Regions from separate parts of the Homo sapiens genome. Here regions 1, 3 and 4 are each linked to region 2. Evidence: promoter capture Hi-C in human tissues and cell types (Jung and others, 2019). All regions are on one chromosome and are shown on one strand. Each heading gives the region's core, a stretch centred on a gene start or on the middle of the fragment in contact. The rest is flanking DNA. Distances are from core to core; before and after follow the strand shown. Region 1 holds the start of CLCN7 (chloride voltage-gated channel 7). Region 2 holds the start of NDUFB10 (NADH:ubiquinone oxidoreductase subunit B10). Region 3 holds the start of IFT140 (intraflagellar transport 140). Region 4 holds the start of TMEM204 (transmembrane protein 204).

The links. Contacts are between HindIII fragments. The study calls those that stand out against the background at their distance.
Region 1: the fragment with the promoter of CLCN7 here is called in contact with the fragment with the promoter of NDUFB10 in region 2 in 1 of the 25 tissues and cell types used here (dorsolateral prefrontal cortex).
Region 3: the fragment with the promoter of IFT140 here is called in contact with the fragment with the promoter of NDUFB10 in region 2 in 1 of the 25 tissues and cell types used here (dorsolateral prefrontal cortex).
Region 4: the fragment with the promoter of TMEM204 here is called in contact with the fragment with the promoter of NDUFB10 in region 2 in 1 of the 25 tissues and cell types used here (lymphoblastoid cells).

What each region holds. Positions count from the first base shown.
Region 1 is chr16:1,473,445-1,476,536 of GRCh38, forward strand. It overlaps CLCN7 (chloride voltage-gated channel 7), which reads right to left and starts at 1,584. Exons shown (of 25, transcript NM_001287.6): 1 at 1,390-1,584. The coding sequence starts at 1,530. RefSeq lists silencers at 1,327-1,536, 1,657-2,006 and an enhancer at 1,544-2,087. The HindIII fragment of the contact is 17,994 bases long and covers 1-3,092 here.
Region 2 is chr16:1,958,240-1,960,787 of GRCh38, forward strand. It overlaps NDUFB10 (NADH:ubiquinone oxidoreductase subunit B10), which reads left to right and starts at 1,299. Exons shown (of 4, transcript NM_004548.3): 1 at 1,299-1,515. The coding sequence starts at 1,386. RefSeq lists an enhancer at 1-356 and silencers at 1,079-1,388, 1,819-1,928. The HindIII fragment of the contact is 2,906 bases long and covers 266-2,548 here.
Region 3 is chr16:1,610,775-1,613,650 of GRCh38, forward strand. It overlaps IFT140 (intraflagellar transport 140), which reads right to left and starts at 1,298. Exons shown (of 31, transcript NM_014714.4): 1 at 1,194-1,298; 2 at 1-79. It overlaps CRAMP1 (cramped chromatin regulator 1), which reads left to right and starts at 1,586. Exons shown (of 21, transcript NM_020825.4): 1 at 1,586-1,883. RefSeq lists silencers at 1-4, 1,243-1,772, 1,793-1,912, 1,943-2,102 and enhancers at 1,033-1,092, 1,481-1,981, 1,982-2,482. The HindIII fragment of the contact is 16,182 bases long and covers 1-2,876 here.
Region 4 is chr16:1,532,406-1,535,386 of GRCh38, forward strand. It overlaps TMEM204 (transmembrane protein 204), which reads left to right and starts at 1,261. Exons shown (of 3, transcript NM_024600.6): 1 at 1,261-2,150. The coding sequence starts at 1,871. The region is part of intron 19 of IFT140 (intraflagellar transport 140); the gene reads right to left. RefSeq lists enhancers at 587-1,290, 1,291-1,994. The HindIII fragment of the contact is 11,677 bases long and covers 1-1,872 here.

The DNA.
Region 1 (3,092 bases), core at 334-2,833, 480 kb before region 2:
CTCACTGTAAGCTCCGCCTCCCGGGTTCAATTGATTCTCCTGCCTCAGCCTCCCGAGTAGCTGGGACTACAGGCGCCCGCCACCACGCCTGGCTAATTTTTTGTATTTTTAGTAGAGACGGGGTTTCACCATATTAGCCAGGATGGTCTCAATCTCCTGACCTCATGATCCACCCGCCTCGGCCTCCCAAAGTGCTGGGATTACAGATGTGAGCCACCGTGCCCTGCCGTCCTTCCTAATCTTTAAGCACAAGACAAGTGTTTAAAGGACTAGACAAGAGAAAATGTAAAGAATAACTGCAAAGCAGATTAAGACCCATCAACAAAACGGTCCATTAACTCAAAAGTAACACAATACGGCCAGGCGCAGTGGCTCACGCCTGTAATCCCAGCACTTTGGGAGGCTGAGGTGCGGGGGATCACGTGAGGTCGGGAGTTCGAGGCCAGCCTGACCAACACGGAGGAACCCCGTCTCTACTAAAAATACAAAATTAGCCGGGCGCGGTGGCGCACGCCTGTAATTCCAGCTACTCAGGAGGCTGAGGCAGGAGAGTCACTTAAACTCGGGAGGTGGGGGTTGCAGTGAGCCGAGATCGCGCCATTGCACTCCAGCCTGGGCAACTACAGTGAAACTCCGTCTCAAAAAAAAAAAAATATTAAGACAATACACAGACAGGGAAACAAATGTACCCGCAACGGTTCTCCAGACCTTAACACTGCTCAGACGCACGCTGCAGGGTGACATGCGGAACGCATTCCAACCTCTGACTTGCTGCTTATTGTGTTTGCCTGCACATTGCAAATTCAACTCGGTGCGAAGGGAGACTGAGTACAAATACTCGTCACTCCCAAGATCACCTGAAAGTCGGGACTGATCCCCACACAGAAAGATGGCAGATAAAGGCGCTCAGTCATTCTCACTGAAAGACAGTGACCCGGCTGCAATCTTAACTGTTTCCATCTCCCAGGGGGTCAAAAACGCAAACAAAATTAGTTGCTCGTGTAGGATGACAATTTTTAAAAGTCACCTGAACAGAAAGCCACTTGCACCCCTTTAGGGCCAGTCTGGGGGACACCGGAGGGAATGAACGTGCGCCACGGCTGCCCCGGCGCCCCTCAGCGCCCCACATTCCGCGGGGTCTGGCGAGCTCCGCCTCGCCCACGCAGCCCTCCCGGCCACCGAGCCCGGCGCGGCCTCCGAAGACTCCAGACCCCAGGCGCCCCCGCCAGCCCGGCCCCGCCGAGGAGCCCCGGGGCGCGTTCCCGAGTCCACCGCGCCTCGGTCGCCTCCAGGACCGAGACACGCGGCGCCGCCAGAAGGCTCACGAGGGCGCGGGCTGCGGGGCGCACGAGGGCTCAGTTTCCCCGCCTGCGCCCTGCCCGGCCTCACCTGGCGCGCAGCCCCAGGCCCAGCCCCGTTCAGCAGCGGCGTCCCCCCGCCGGGCCGCGCCGTCCTCCGCAGCAGCGGCGCCGCCTCCTCGTCGTCCCGGTCCCGGCCGGACCAGGACACCTTCTTAGAGACGTTGGCCATGGCCCGCCGCGGAGCGACACCGGCCGGGAAGCGCCGGCTGCCCCCGTGTTTGTTCTCGTGACCCGCGCCGGCGGCCACGTGACGCGCGACGGGGCCACGTGATGAGCGACGGCGACCATGTGACCTGCAACGGCAACCACCGAGGCCCGGTCGCGCGGGGGCTCCTGGGAGCCGCGCTCCCGGCGGGTCGTGGCGCCGCCCGCCCTAGAGAATCGCCGCGGCCCTGAGGACCCCGTTCTGCCCACGCGACTGCAAAGGCGGCCCCGTTGGGCTGAGCGCCGAGTGCTTGGGAGGCGAATGGCCGCCCCCGGGACCTCGGGCCCGGGAGTCGGGGCGAGGGAAGCGCCCGGGGCCTGAGGGCAGGAGCCGGCTGGAGGGGCTCCCCCAGGCCCGGTCGCCCGCGCCGATCGTGACGGAGCCGCGGTGGGGAAGGGAGGAGGGAGGCAGGGGCGAGGGCAGGCCTTTCCTTGCCATAGGCGGCGGCTAAAGACGTGAAGGATGAAATTAGAAGTCCCGAAGCATGCATCCGCCCTCGCAGTAGGCACTCGGGCGAGGGTCGGAGTGGAGGCTTCCTCCAGGCAGCCCCAGAGGGTCCTCCCGCCTAATGAGAAAAGAACAGAAGGCGAGTCCTCTTCAACGATCAGGCCCCAGAGACAGTACAGGAGGGTCGCCTCTGGAAACTGCCGGCTACTACGCAGATAGCTGTGAATTAGCCAAATAGCCGCCCGGACCCTGTACCCGCACCAGGGCACAGCCCATCACTAATCAATGGTATTTCCATAAACCAAAGAGAATTCTTGACAGCTTTACATCAGCCCCCACCCTGTCCCCACCTTCTGGGTCATTTATTTATTTATTTTGAGACAGGGTCTCCTTCTGTCGCCCAGGCTGGAGTGCGGTGGTGCGGTCACAGCTCAGTGCAGCCTTGACCTCCTGGACTCAAGCCATCCTCCCGCCTCAGCCTCTGGAGTAACAGGGACCACAGGCCTGCACCACCACACCCGGCTAATTTTTGCTGTGGAGCTCACAGTGTGTTGCCCAGGCTGTTCTCAAACTTCTGACCTCAAGTGATCCTTCCACGTTAGCCTCTAGAGTAAACTCTTTATATTTTGTGCCTCATCCTCTTCCTTTTAAAAGGTCGATATTTTTATTATTGAGACGGAGTCTCACTCTGTCGCCCAGGTTGGAGTGCAGTGGCCCAATCTCGGCTCACTGCCTCCCGGGTTCATGCCTCAGCCTCCCGAGTAGCCGGGACTACAGGCGCCCGTCACCATGGCCGGCTAATTTTTTGTATTTTTAGTACAGATGGGGTTTCACTGTGTTAGCCAGGATGGTCTCGATCTCCTGACCTCGTGATCCACCCGCCTCGGCCTCCCAAAGTGCTGAGATTACAGGCGTGAGTCACGGTGCCCGGCCTTTTTTTAAATTATTATTATTATTTTTTTATTTTTGAGACACAGTCTCACTTTGTCACCCAGGCTGAAGTACAATGACAAGATCATAGCTCACTGCAGCCTTGACCTCTTGGGTTCAAGGGATCCTCCTTCCTCAGCCTCCTGAGT
Region 2 (2,548 bases), core at 49-2,548:
CTGGAGCAGGGGGCGGCGCTCGTCGGGGAGGTTCGGGCCGCACAGGAGCCCACGGAGTGGGGGAGGCTCAGGCATGGCGGGCTGTAGGTCCCGAGCCCTGCCCCGCGGGGAGGCAGCTAAGGCCTGGCGAGAGAAATCGAGCGCAGCGCCGGTGGGCCGGCCTGCTGGGGGACCCAGCACACCCTCCGCAGCCGCTGGCCCGGGTGCTAAGCCCCTCATTGCCCAGGGCCGGCAGGGCCGGCCAGGCTCTCCGAGTGCGGGGCCCGCCGAGCCCACACCCACCTGGAATTCGCGCTGGCCCGCAAAGCACCGCGCGCAGCCCCGGTTCCCGCCTGCGCCTCTCCCTCCACACCTCCCCGCAAGCTGAGGGAGCCCGCTCTGGCCTTGGCCAGCCCAGAAAGGGGCTCCTCAAGTGCCGCCAAAGTGGGAGCCCAGGCAGAGGAGGCGCCGAGAGCGAGCGAGGGCTCTGAGGACTGCCAGCACGCTGTCACCTCTCACTGTTTGTCTGTAGGGTTGATGGTTCTGTGTCGCTGGCCTCAACCTCAGGACAGGACATGACCAGTGTCCCCCCTGGATAGCAGCCAGGGGCCGTGCCAGGTGTGGAGACTGAAGATGTGGCCAGCAGGACCCTGCTCAGTGGAGCTGCCTAGAAGCACCAGAGTGCCCCAGGGCCAGGATGGAACCATCAAAGCCGGCCAGAGGGCCCTGTGCCCAGGGTAGGTGCCTTCTCCCTATGAGCCGCCTAAGGGCAAGCCCTGCCTCCTGGTCTGCTCCCTGCCCTCCCCCAGACAGGCTCCCAAGTTAACTGGCACCAGCCAGTCCATGAGGGGCCCTTGTAGAGAGCGGGGCCCAGAGAAGTCTGTAGGGACTAGGCAATCCAGGAAAGCTTCCTGGAGGAGTAGGGTGTTTGGAATCGCGTGCTATTTGTTCACTTTGTCGTGTGCGCTCTAACGGCCTGTGTTCTCCATCACAGTTTATCTTATTCCCTGCTGCACTCAGCACAGTGCCTGGCGCGCAGTGGGAACCGAATGACCCCCTCCTATTCCTTATGTCAGTTGCCTTTTGTCTGTTTCTTTCATCGTAAGCAGGAATCTGTCCGGTTCGCGGCTGCTTCCCAGGCGCCCAGACCAGCGACCAGCACCGCGTAGGCGCTCGGCACAGACCGAGAACGGAGGCCCCACGCGGGGGCGCCCTGCGGCGAGGCGGGTCCCGGCCGCGCCCGGCGGAGCCGGGGAACTACAAGTCCCATGGTGCATCGCGGCGCCAGCGCGCAGACGCAGCCGCCCTCGGCGTCCTCTGTAGCGGGCGACCTAGGCCGCGGGACCCGGACGGAGGTAGAGGCCAGGGCAGCGCGTCCGGGAGCGGAGTCCGCGCCCGCCGCCGCCATGCCGGACAGCTGGGACAAGGATGTGTACCCTGAGCCCCCGCGCCGCACGCCGGTGCAGCCCAATCCCATCGTCTACATGATGAAAGCGTTCGACCTCATCGTGGACCGACCCGTGACCCTCGTGAGAGGTACGAAGCCCCAGCCCGGGGCTCCCTCGCCGGCCTCTGGGGACCCCTGGATCCCACACCCTGCCTGGATCCTCCAATGCCTCCGGGGTCCCGTCTGCCTGAGACCGCCCCCCGCTGCACCCCGGGGACAACTCCCCACCCCCGGAGACCTCCGAGCTCCGTCGCCTCCTTTGGCCTCCCACTGCACCCCGGACCTCACCTCCCAGGATCCCTTACTCTCCCCTGCACCCCGGGATGCCCCGCTTCTTCCCAGGACTCTTCCCTCCCTGCCGCACCCAGCGCCCACTGCCCCAGGACCCCGCACTGCTCTCCGCCCCCCGCCGCCCCGGGCACCCCTCCACTGCACCGCTGGCCTCAGGCCTCTCTCAAATGTCTCTCTGCCGGATGACCAAGTGTCGGGGTGATGGCCGAGATGCCCAAATTCAGCATCTCTGGAACGAACCGGGAAAATGCCCAGTTCAGTTTTTGTTGTTTTTTTTTTTCCTGAGACAGTCTCACTCTGTTGCCCAGGCTGGAGTGCAGTGGCGCGATCTCGGCTCACTGCAACCTCTGCCCCACCCCGGGTTCAAGCGATTCTCCTGCCTCAGCCTCCCCAGTACTAGGATTACAGGCGCACCACCACCACGCCCAGCTAATTTTTATATTTTTAGTAGACACGGGGTTTCACCATGTTGGCCAGGCTGGTCTCGAACTCCTGACCTCAGGTGATCCTCCCACCTTGGCCCCCAGGTGCTGGGATTACAGGCCTGAGCCACCGTGTCCAGCCTGGTTCAGTTCTTTTTGAACACTTGGGGTGCATAGCATGCTCTGGTGGTTCTTCCGTAAGAGGGTGAAGTCTCCAAATCAAACCCCCAAAGATCTGGAAACCGTGCAACAGCGGACCCAGCTCCCTCTCTTTTGTAGCAGTTGTAGAGCATGTCTGTCCTATGTGTCTGGATGTTCGAGCTCTCCTTTTAGCTCGTTCATTTCCCAGTGAGGAAGCTGAGGCCGTAAGGTGGTAAGTTCTGCTTGCTGGAGGCTCCCTGTTGGAGCC
Region 3 (2,876 bases), core at 48-2,547, 350 kb before region 2:
CGGCCGGAAAGAGCCGAAGGCGATCGGGCACGCACGTGCAGCTCCGAGGCCCGAGCGTCGGGGGCCAGGTTATTCCGCTCTGCAAGAGAGAAGCGGGACGAGCTTTTTCTAGGAGAGACGGCGGCGCAGGGCCGGCGTCTGGGTCCCCTTTGTGTGGAGGGCGCGCTGTCACAGCCCCGATCAACCGCGGCATCCTCCCCTCCTGGGCGTGTTCCCTTCCCGTGCATCCCGAGGCGGAGCCTTTCCAGCACGCGGCGGTCTCGGCCCAGGCCTTCCCTGGGCTCCGCTTTTCTAGTTTCGGAGCGGAGGGCGTGGGTCAAGCGTTTCTGGGAAAGTCGATGCGCTCGGCAGTGTCCTGAGGTGTTGGGTGACTGAGGGCCTGTTCCATCGCCGGGCCCCGGACTCCACAGAGCCAAGCGAGGCAGGGAGCGCCCCCAAGAAAGCAGCTGGCGGCCGGACGCGGGGCTCGCGCTTGGGCTTCCAGCTCTTGGGGGCTGGGGCGGGCGGATCGTTGGAGCCCAGGAGTTCGAGACCAGCCTTGGCAACAAGGCGAGATCCTGTCTCTAAAAAATTACAAAAATTAGCCGGGCGCGGTGGCGCCTCTAGTCTCGGCTACAGGAGGCTGAGGGAGGAGAATCGCCTGAGCCCCGGGAGGCGGAGACTGCAGCGAGCCGAGATCGGGCCACTGCACTCCAGCCTGGGCGACAGAGCGAGTCAAAAAAAAAAAAAAAGAAAAGAAAAAGAAACACTGGAATTTGAGCCGGGCGCGGTGGCTCACGCCTGCAAACCCAGTACTTTGGGAGGCTGAGACGAGCGGATCACTTGAGGTCAGGAGTTCGAGACTAGCTTGGCCAACATGGTGAAACCCCGTATGTACTAAAAACACACAAATTAGCGAGTATGGTGGCGCGCGCCTGTAATTCCAACTACTCGGGAGGCTGAGGCAGGAGAATCGCTTGAACCTGGGAGGCGGAGCTTGCAGTGAGCCAAGATTGCGCCACTGCACTCCAGCCTGGGCGACAGAGCGAAACTCCGTCTCAAAAAAAAAAAAAAAGAAAGAAAGAAACACTGGAATTTGAAAAACACCCCTCTGCTTTCTTGCTATGAAGAAAATGACCAAGTGCCCAGCGCCGCTCGGCTACGCTAACGTAGCGCAGAAGCACATACTCCACCCAGGAAAGGGTGCGCTTAACTGCCTCAGACGTGCTTCCACACTTCTCAGAACTCAGGTTCGCGCCCGATTCCACACTCCGAGCTACCACGCCGTTTTCTTCTCACGTATCCGTCAACACTGCTGCGGCCAATCACAGCACGGGCCCTGGCCTATTGGCTGTCTGTCCACCAATCCAAAGAGACGCACAGTCCGCAAGGTCGCGAGGCTGGCGTCACAACACTACTGGCGCCGCGGGCTCGCCCCCGACGCCCACCGGGCTCGTACGTGCGAGCGCGCCCGCCCAGCGCTAGCCAATGGGAGCGCCGTTTTGGGGAGACGGGCCCGAAGAAACATTGGGGGTGCTCGCCCCCGCGTTCGTCGCCCCGCCCCGCGCGCCCGCGCACCCCGGCCCCGCCCCCGCGCGCCGTCCGTGAGGTCCCCACCGGCCGCCGTAGCCGGAACTGCTGCTGAGGGCGGCGGGCCGGCTTCGCTAGGGTGAGTGGCGGCAGTATCTGCGTCCGCAGCCCCCGCAGCCGCGCGCCGGCCCGCGGAGGGGACGTGCCGGGGCTAGCGCCGCTCGACCAGTCGCTTCCGAGGCGGACGACCAGCCCGGCGTTGCGGCCTCCCTGCAGCCGGCGCTCGGGGGCCGGGGCTGCCCGGCCCGGCTGGTTCTGCGGGCACCCGGGGAGGCCCCGGGAAGCCAGGCTGCCGCCCGGCGTTGATGAAAAAGGTGACCAAGGCTGGGCGGCGGGGCTGTCATGGCGAGGCCCGGCCGGGGGGTCCTGTCGGGCGGCGCGGGAGAGCGCGGGGGGGGCGTCGCTTCCACAGCGCCCGGTACAGCCACAACTGGCCTCAGGGCGAGGAGGCTTCTGCGTCCCCATCCCGAGACGCGAGCCGGTGCGGAGCGGGACGGGGCTGGAGGAGACTGCGCCTCCGAGAAAAGTCCGGTCTCGTTGGAGGTTCTCGCGAAAAGGAGGCCATCCCCCTGCTTGTTGGCCCTTAGGGTAAAGTCTGGACGGCGTCGGTCCTTTCAGTGGCGAAAAGCGCTTCCCCGTGCTCGGTCGGCGTCTTGGGTGTGGAGCCCGGCGAGCGGGCGAGTTCACTCTGGTGGCCGAGTTTGTTTTGCTTGGGTCCCGGGTGGCCTGCGGGCGGACAGGTCCCTGGGCAGCGGGGTTCTCAGCCCGAGACGAGGTCTTTGGGGGTTTAGGTTTCTTGAGTGGAAAGAGGTGGGTTGAGGGGGAAGAGTGGGAAGTCTTGCCACGAAATCCCTTAAGTTGGGGTGTTTGTCGTGGGTGGTTTTGTTCTTTGGCAGAGTTTTTTTTAAAACTAGCATGAACTCGAGATTCCCTAGACCAATTCCGACAGGAGAAAACGGCCACGGATCCTTGTGTGATCTGCACCTCAGGGTGGGGGCATCATTGCGACTTTGAAGCCATTTCCCGATCTCTCGGAAAGAGAGGTCCTCGCCCGCGTCCCTGTATTTCGTGGTTGGTGTTGGTGCCTCGATCGTGTGTTCCTTTGAAGTGGAAATGCCCCCGTTCTCAACAGTTGAGTTGAACGCAGGGTCAGTATCTGCTGAGGAATCTAATCTTCAGCGTTTTTGCTTCCTCACACGTGCCCGTCCCGGACTGTTTCTGGGCTGCAGCTCTTGCTGTGTACCTGATTGTCTGAGTTTATTTTTGAGTGGCTCTGCTTTCTGGGCTGCAGCATTTTTAGTCACTGC
Region 4 (2,981 bases), core at 11-2,510, 430 kb before region 2:
ACGGAGCTGCTGCCTTTCTGGAACAGACACAGGGCGTGTGTGGGGAACCTTGCTTCACCTGTGGATATACAGAGCCACATGCCAACGTGTGAATGGAGACTGGTCCCAGGAAGTGGCAGCTCTCGGGACCGCCCTGAGCCAGGGCCCAAGCACGGGCAGTGCAAGGACAGGAAACGGTCAAAGCTCTGCTGTTACCACAGGCTGGGAACAGGACTCTCTGTCCCAGCACTGTCTTGGGCGTGTGCCCATGAACAGTTTGCACGGATGTGGGACACCTGCATTCACGAAGCTTTGGAGCCTGGGTAGGCTGGGAATCCCATGCTGGGTTTCGGGTCTCTGGAGATGGGACAGAGTAGGAGACCCTCTCGTGGTGTCTGCCCAGCTGGGCAGAATAATTCTGAGCAGAATAGACGAAGATGCTTCTGAGCTCCCTGGCAGCATAAGCTCTGCCCGAGAGCCTGACCACTCACAAGGTGACCTGCCTAGTCCTGTCCCCAGCTGTGGGGGGTGACCGTTCCCATCAATAGCAGAGGTGGCCCAGGCCCCACGTGACATTCGCTCTGTCCCAGGCCCCGCTGAGAGCCCCACCCAGCACATCCAGAATCTTACCCTTCTTGCCACCTAAGAATGACCTGGCCTCGAGGTCCTCCAAGTACAGGTCCCTGGCCCCGAGGTCCTCCAAGTACAGGTCCCTGGCCCCAAGGCCCTCCAAGTACAGGTCCCTGGCCCCGAGGTCCTCCAAGTACAGGTCCCTGGCCCTGCAGGTCTGGGTGAACTTGCTCCCTCCAGGCACACGGGTCTCTCCCCTTCCCAGCAATCCTGTGATATCTGCCCCCCTTTTGAGGGCAGCATTCCCGTGGCGGGGGCAGGCCTGGAACACACGGGCGGGGGGAGGCTTGTGGTTCCTATGGTCCTGGGGGTACCTATGGTCCTGGGGGCAACTGGATGGCTGGGGGGTGTGAAGTCCCCAGGGCAGGCAATAGTCGCTCAGTACCAGCCTCCAGGCCCCGGGGGCCACCAGGCTTAAAAGCAACAGGCGAGACGAGGGATCTGTCCCGCACCCGGCATCCCTGGCCTCTCCTCTGGGACAGGAAGATGGGGAGGGGCGGCAGGAGGTGGGCCTGGAGCAGGGCCTCAGAAGTCTCCTGGCCTTTCCCATCAGGAAGCACATCCTGTTGGTGTCTGGCTGCCGCGGCAGGGCCGCTATTTGTTGCGGTTGGCTACGCCTTCCAGCTCACCAAAAACAGTCTCAAAAACAACCATTTCCTCTCTGCTGAGAGCCAGGGAAGGCGAGCTCTGCGCACACGGGCGTCCCTGCAGCAGCCACTCTGCTTTCCAGGACCGGCCAACTGCCCTGGAGGCATCCACACAGGGGCCCAGGCAGCACAGAGGAGCTGTGAACCCGCTCCACACCGGCCACCCTGCCCGGAGCCTGGCACTCACAGCAGGCCGGTGCTAAGGAGTGTGGCGCGGGCTCGACTCCCACTGCTGCCGGCCTCCCGAGTGACTCTGTTTTCCACTGCTGCAGGCGAGAAGAGGCACGCGCGGCACAGGCCGGCCTCCGCTTCCCGGGAAGACGGCGCACTCCTGGCCCTGGGTTCTTGCTGCTGCCCACCCTCTGCTCCCTGGGATGGGCCCCGAGGCGAGCAGCTTCAGCACAGGCCTGGCCCTGCTCCAGGTGCAGGAAGGAGGATAAGGCCGGGCCGAGAGGCGGCACACCTGGACCATCCCATGGGCCTCCGCCCGCGCCGCCCCGAGGATGAGTGGTGATGTCCTCTAGCCACCCCTAGCAGCGTCGGCTCTCCCTGGACGTGCGGCCGCGGACTGGGACTTGGCTTTCTCCGGATAAGCGGCGGCACCGGCGTCAGCGATGACCGTGCAGAGACTCGTGGCCGCGGCCGTGCTGGTGGCCCTGGTCTCACTCATCCTCAACAACGTGGCGGCCTTCACCTCCAACTGGGTGTGCCAGACGCTGGAGGATGGGCGCAGGCGCAGCGTGGGGCTGTGGAGGTCCTGCTGGCTGGTGGACAGGACCCGGGGAGGGCCGAGCCCTGGGGCCAGAGCCGGCCAGGTGGACGCACATGACTGTGAGGCGCTGGGCTGGGGCTCCGAGGCAGCCGGCTTCCAGGAGTCCCGAGGCACCGTCAAACGTAAGTCCAATTGTTTTCCTGATGCCTTCAGCGTGGCCGAGGCTCGAGGGCACATGGGAGATGTTAGGCGCGGACCTGGTGAGCGGGTGGGGAGGCCTGGCCCCTGCTCTGCCCTGAGCGTGGCCTCTGGGCAGGCAGGAGGGGGCACTGTGTCTCCCAGGGAACCAGGCCCCAAGGCCCCCTCTCCCTGGTGAGTGGTGGCCCCACACACTCCTCCTGCTCAGCACAGAATCTGCCTCCAGCTCTTTTACACAGGAATTCATCTCAGGCATTTGGGGGGCCTCTCTGCCGTTACACATAGTTAAGAGATGGGTACATTAATCAAATCAAGGAAAGGCATTTTTCCTTGGTTGAAAATAATTATTACGGCTGGGCGCAGTGGTTCACGTCTGTAATCCTAGCGCTTTGGGAGGCTGAGGCGGGAGGACTGCTTGAGGCCAAGAGTTCAAGACGAACCTAGCCTACATAGCGAGAGACCCTGTCTCTGAACATAAAAAAAAAATGAAAATGCTCTTTCTTTACTCATGAGTAAAATAAACAAGAAGTTTAAAAATACACGGGTGAGTTCTGGCTTTGTTCTCACGGTTGTTGGGGTCTTTGAGGCAGAGAGCAGCAGCAGGATCCCCAGGGATGAGCTTCAGATGGGACGCTGGAAAGGAGACAGGGAGGCCAGGACGCTCGGAAGGGGACAGGGATGCTCAGTGGTTGCAGAGGAGAGGAAGGGGCTCAGAATGATGCCACCGCACCGTGGGGTTTGAGTGGCAGGTGTGAGGCTGCATAAATAGGAAGGCGCTTACAGCCCATGGGGTCATCTCAACAGTCACGGCACAG